2 separate regions of the Homo sapiens genome follow, and region 1 is linked to region 2. Evidence: promoter capture Hi-C in 16 types of primary human blood cells and fetal thymus (Javierre and others, 2016). All regions are on one chromosome and are shown on one strand. The core of a region is centred on a gene start or on the middle of the fragment in contact, and the rest is flanking DNA. Distances in the headings are between cores, read along the strand shown. Region 1 has its middle 4.2 kb from the start of SOST. Region 2 holds the start of MEOX1 (mesenchyme homeobox 1).

Region 1 (2,700 bases), core at 160-2,659, 100 kb after region 2:
CTATAGGACAATATCACAACTAGGATATTGATATTGACACAATTTACCAATCTTACCCACATCTCCCGTGGTTTAACCTCTACTGTGTGCGTGCACACGCATTCACGTGTGTGTATACTTAGTTCTATGCAATCTTGTCACGGGTAAATTTGGGGATCCACCACAGTCAAGATAAAGCACAGCTCTGTGACCACAAGTCTTTCTCCTGTTGCCCACCTCCTTCCCTCCTTTTCCCTCCCTCCCACAACTAACCCCTGGCAACTACTCATCTAATCTCCATTTCTGTCATTTTTTTTTTTCACTTCAAAATTGTTACATAAATGCGGCCAGGTGCGGTGGCTCACTCATGTAATCCCAGCACTTTGGGAAGCCAAGGCAGGCAGATCACTTGAGGTCAGGAGTTCGAGACCAGCCTGGCCAACATGGCGAAACCCTGTCTCTACTAAAAATACAAAAATTAGCTGGGCATGGTGGCACGCACCTGTAATCCCAGCTACTTGGGAAGCTAAGGCAAGAGAATCGCTTGAACTCAGGAGGCGGAAGTTGCAGTGAGCTGAGATCGCGCCACTGTGCTCCAGCCTGGGTGACAGAGTGAGACTGTCTCAAAAAAAAAAAAAAAGGTTATATAAATGGAATCAATTAGTATGTAGCCTTTGGGGATTTTTTTTTCACTCAGCATTATTTCCATTATCCAAGTTGTACATATCAGTAACATGTTCCTTTTTCTTTTCTTTTTTTTTTTTTTGGCTGAGTAGTATTCCACAAAGTTTAAAAAAACAAAACAAAACTTTAGAGTTATTTCTGGAAGTGAATGCTGTGTCTGAGGGAGTGTGAAGAGTTTGGTGGTCTGATGAGGGTATTGCAGGGCTGTTTTCCAGAAAAAGCCCAGTCCCCGCCCTCACCTGCAAAATAGAGGCTCCCATAGGTGGTACTTTGATGAGGCTGCCGTAACTAAGTACCACAAATTGGGTGGCATAAACAACAGAAGTCGTCTCACAGAGCTGGAGGTTAGGAGTGCAAGTTCAAGACATTGGCAGAGTTGGTTCCTTCGAGGACAGCGAGGAAGGCCTTTTACCTGCCTTCTGCTGGCTGCTGACAAGCTGTGGCATTCACTGGCTTGCAGAAGTGTCACCCCCAATCCCTGCCTTCATCTTCACATGGTGTTCTCTCTGTGTTCGAATTTTCCCTTTTTTCTAAGGAGGTCAGGCATATTAGATTAGGCCCAGCCTAATGACCTCATCTTAACGAGTTACATCTGTAATAGCCCTATTTCCAAATAAGGTCACATTCTCAGGTACTGTGACTTAGGACTTCAATATATGCATTTGGGAGGAATGCAGTTCAACCCATAAATAAGACTGTCAACACTGGGTTTGGGATGTTGATTTTTTTTTTTTTTTTTTTTTTTTTTTTTGAGACAGAGTCTCGCTCTGTCACCCAGGCGGGAGTGCAGTGGTGTGATCTTGGCTCATATAACCTCCACCTCCTGGGTTCAAGCAGTTCTCCTGCCTCAGCCTCCCGAGTAGCTAGGACTACAGACTCCCGCCACCACACCCAGCTAATTTTTGCATTTTTTTTATTTGTTTTGTAGAGATGGGGTTTCGCCATGTCGGCCAGGCTGGTCTTGAACTCCTGACATCAGGTGTTCCCACAATCCCATAAAGTGCTGGGATTGCAGGCGGGAGCCACCGCACCCAGCCGATTTTTTTAAACATTGAATTTAACAGTTGAAACTTAATTTCCAGAAAAGCTGCTTTTCCATGTGATTATTTACCAGCTTTTGTTTCTGTCGAGTTGCTTCTTCCGATGTTCACTCGCCAAACGTTTAATAAAGCAAGGGGGACACGCACTCCCTCTCCAGGAGCTCGCATACCATGGAAGAAATAATTTCCGCATCCAAACAACTCCACTACCAGATGGAAGGTGATCAATGCCACTGAAAAAAAGGTTCAGATGCTTTTTTCTAAAAAAAACTTTATTTTTTTTCTGGAGCACTTTTAGGTTCACAGCAAAACTGAGTGGATGGTACAGAGATTTCTCATTTATGTCCTGTGCCCACACATGTACAGCTGCCCCCGTTATCAACATCCCGCCACCAGAGTGGTGCATTTGCTATGATTGATGAGCCTACATGACACATCATTATCACCTGAAGTCCATGGTTTACATCACAGCACTAGTGTTGTACATCCTATGGCTTTGGACAAATGTATAATGACATACATCTACCATTATAGTATCATACAGATGGGCAGTATTTTCATTGTCCAAAAAAACTATCTGCTCTGCCTATTCATCCCTCCCCGACTTTCCCCAACCCCTGGCAACCACTGATCTTTTTACTGTACCTTTATTTTTGCCTTTTCCAGGATGTCATATAGAGTTGGAATATACCCATACATAGTCTTTTCAGATTGGCTTCTTTCAGTTAGTAATATTCATTTGGGGTTCCTCCATGTCTTTTCATGGCATGAACAGCTTATTTTTTTTTTTTAGCACTGAGTAATACTCCATCGTCTTGATGTATCACGGTTTATCTAGTCACCTACTGTCATCTACTGAAGGACATCTTGGTTGCTTTCAAGCTCTGGCAATTATTAATAGAGGTGGTATAAACATTTTGTACAGGTTTTTTGTTTTGTTTTGTCTTAAGACGGAGTCTTACTCTGTCTCCCAGGCTGGGGTGCAGTGCCGTGATCT
Region 2 (2,700 bases), core at 132-2,631:
AGGCCTGCTTCTCTGCCTCTAGGCTCCTGGACACATAGGGTCTTGGCTTTGGGTGGCCACCCAGGGTCCCAGCTTCAGTCTTAGCTCTCAGAGCCTTAACCTCAGCTGAACTTCCCTGGTAAGCGAGCCCTGTGGCTCTAGGACCACTTGGGGCTGGCCAAAGCATGGTGGGGAGGAGGATGACTCAATGGCAGCCTGATTCAGGAAAGCCCCTCACCAGCCCTCGCCAGTCTGCACCCAGAGGATCCATTTCACGTGTCCTCCAAATCCTGGCTGATCCTGTTTCATTCTCTTGCTGGACACCCTTTCTGGGGCCCAGGAGTGCTGGGACACAGACATGGTCCCCATCACCAGAGAATCCTAGAACTCTCAGTGGAAGAAACCCCAAAGGTAACTGGTCCAGTCTCCTGCATTTGGATGGACTAGACAGAAATTCATGCTCAGAGCACCTAGGCACAGAGAGGGTGAGTAACTTCCCCAGGGTCACACAGTAAAGGAATGATCAGCTGCTCCTGAGCCACCTACCTGAACTCTCCTTTCTCCGCCTGGATGATTTCTTCTCTGTCTCATTGGCAGTGCTCCCAAGCACCCCGTAGTCATCGCCTGGGCCTCCTGTGGTGTCCACCAGGCCCAGGCTGCTGGTCCCCATTTCCTTGGAACCCCCTGCCGGGCCTGAGTTGGGCCTGCGCCGGGCGTCTGAGACAGGGAAGTGCCAGTTGGGGGACTGTGGGAAAGCGGGGTGCTGCTCAGTGAAGATGTGCTCCTCCTGGGGCAGGCTGTGTGGGGTGGCTGCCAGGCAGGAGGCTGAGAAGTCAGGGTACGCTGCCGTCGCTGTCGCCAGGAAGTCTGGTTTCTGGTGGAAGGAGAACGGGGTGGGCGGGTAGTGGGGTAGCCCTGAGGCCCCATTGCCTTCCGAGTGGGGGTTTCGAAGGCAGCCCCAGACAGGGGCTGGGGGCTGGAGGCTCCTCATGCAGCTGCTGGCCGCGGGATCCATCTGCTGTCCGCTGCACGCCTCGGTCCTTTCAAAGATTTGATTCTTTATACTTTTTATGTTCAAATTTTTAAAAATGCAAAAGAAAAAAAACTAAATAGGAGGGAAAAATGTTCAACAGAAAATTTACCCCAGGAACCAAAAAAAAAAAAAAACCCAAAACTAAAGTCTCTCCTTAAAGTACACACACATGTGGCCAGCTACTCCTATGTGTGTGCACACACCTATGTCGGGCTTGCTCCTGCCCCTCCAATGCACCAGCCTACCTACTGGGATCCCCTGTATGTGTATTTGTCGCCAATGACACTAAACATTTTCACTGTCCCAACCCAGACGCACCAGCTGACGAGGAGTTCGTCCTGGAGCCCAGAGCAAATGCCTGCAGAGGGCTGGACCAGGGCTGCTGGGACACACTTTTAAATCCTGCGGTGGGGAGAGAGTGACAAATTTCTGAAGTGAAATGTGAGAGAGGAGAGGGAGGGGTTAACCCACACACACAAGATCCCCTCCAACCAAAACCCTAGCAGGCAACTATTAATCATCAGAAACCTTATATGCACATCTAATGGGATTTGCAGATGGAGACTTTTAAAGAAACATTGTCTGTATTTTTTTTTTAAGGAAAGAGAGCAGCACACACACACATACACACACACCGTCTTTAATGTGCCTCCTGTAACACTATGAAGTTATTTTTATTGCACTGTTAACAAAATTCCCCAAGTCTTGGATTTAGAAAAAGCCTTAAGTCAGATCCAGAATCCATCAAATGCCAAATTCCAGGGAGTGAAGTGAGGAATAAGAGCAAGAGACAAGCTTGGTGATTGCATTTGATTTAAAGGCCCTTCTACTGCTGCCTGCGAAAAAGGAAGGTGGATTAAAAGAAATCTTTTTTGCAAGTCTCAGCGGCCCACTGTGGTCTGCAGTACAAAGAAAGGCACACTCTAGAAAAAAAGAATTTCTCTCTGCCCAGAGTGACATTCTCACTTTCTCAGTAACTTAAAAAAACAATCAGATTCTTCCTTCCGCTCTTTAACCTCCAACATACATGCCAATTAGCCACACTCTTCTCTAGAGAGGTTTCAAGTCATTTTTCTTCACAGCAATGGCAAGGCTCTTAAATAAGGTCCTTGAAGTTTCTTCGGGTCTCCTCCCACCTGCTCCCTGCCCCCTTCACCTCCACCCACCTGCTTCCCTTTCTCATCCCCCAGAGGCGGAGGCTTCCGAGGAATTTGGGGTAGGGAAATAGGAATCAGGGGCTCCTCATTCCCCAAAGGAGCCTCTTTGGCAAGCAGGCACGTGGGTCTCCGGGCTGGTGCACATCACAGGGCAGCCAGCCCAAGTGCCATCTTGATGCCCAGTCTTCCTCATGGCTGCGCCCTGCTGGTCTCTCAGAGGGTTAATGCAATTTCTTGGAGGACGACATTCCTAACACCCAGGGGCCAGAACTCCTTCCCCACTGGTTATTCCCATGGCCCAGAGCAGCAGGATGGGGGCAGAAACAGGCATGGACCTTAACAGCAGCGTCTCTGCTGGCTGCTTCCAAAGACGGCGAGGGTTCCCTGAGGAGGGGCCCCTAGGTCTTAGCTCTGCAGCCTGGAGGTGGGGCCCTGGGGGGTGGGTGCAGGAGATGCTCCTAGGAGGAGCCGAAGGGCACCCAGGGATGTGGAATGAAGCCACGACTGGCCTTTAATCCAGAAACTCCAGTC

Evidence for each region. Contacts are between HindIII fragments. The CHiCAGO score rates a contact against its expected background, and 5 or more counts as called.
Region 1: a contact is called between a fragment that was not itself captured here and the fragment with the promoter of MEOX1 in region 2, in 1 of 17 cell types (megakaryocytes). The highest score is 5.7, in megakaryocytes.

Annotation. Positions count from the first base shown.
Region 1 is chr17:43,761,630-43,764,329 of GRCh38, forward strand. No RefSeq gene overlaps it. Among named protein-coding and RNA genes, the nearest start is that of SOST, 4.2 kb to the left of the region's middle. The HindIII fragment of the contact is 6,558 bases long and covers 1-2,700 here.
Region 2 is chr17:43,660,541-43,663,240 of GRCh38, forward strand. MEOX1 (mesenchyme homeobox 1) reads right to left here and starts at 1,382. Exons shown (of 3, transcript NM_004527.4): 1 at 526-1,382. The coding sequence starts at 994. RefSeq lists an enhancer at 135-676. The HindIII fragment of the contact is 18,347 bases long and covers 1-1,805 here.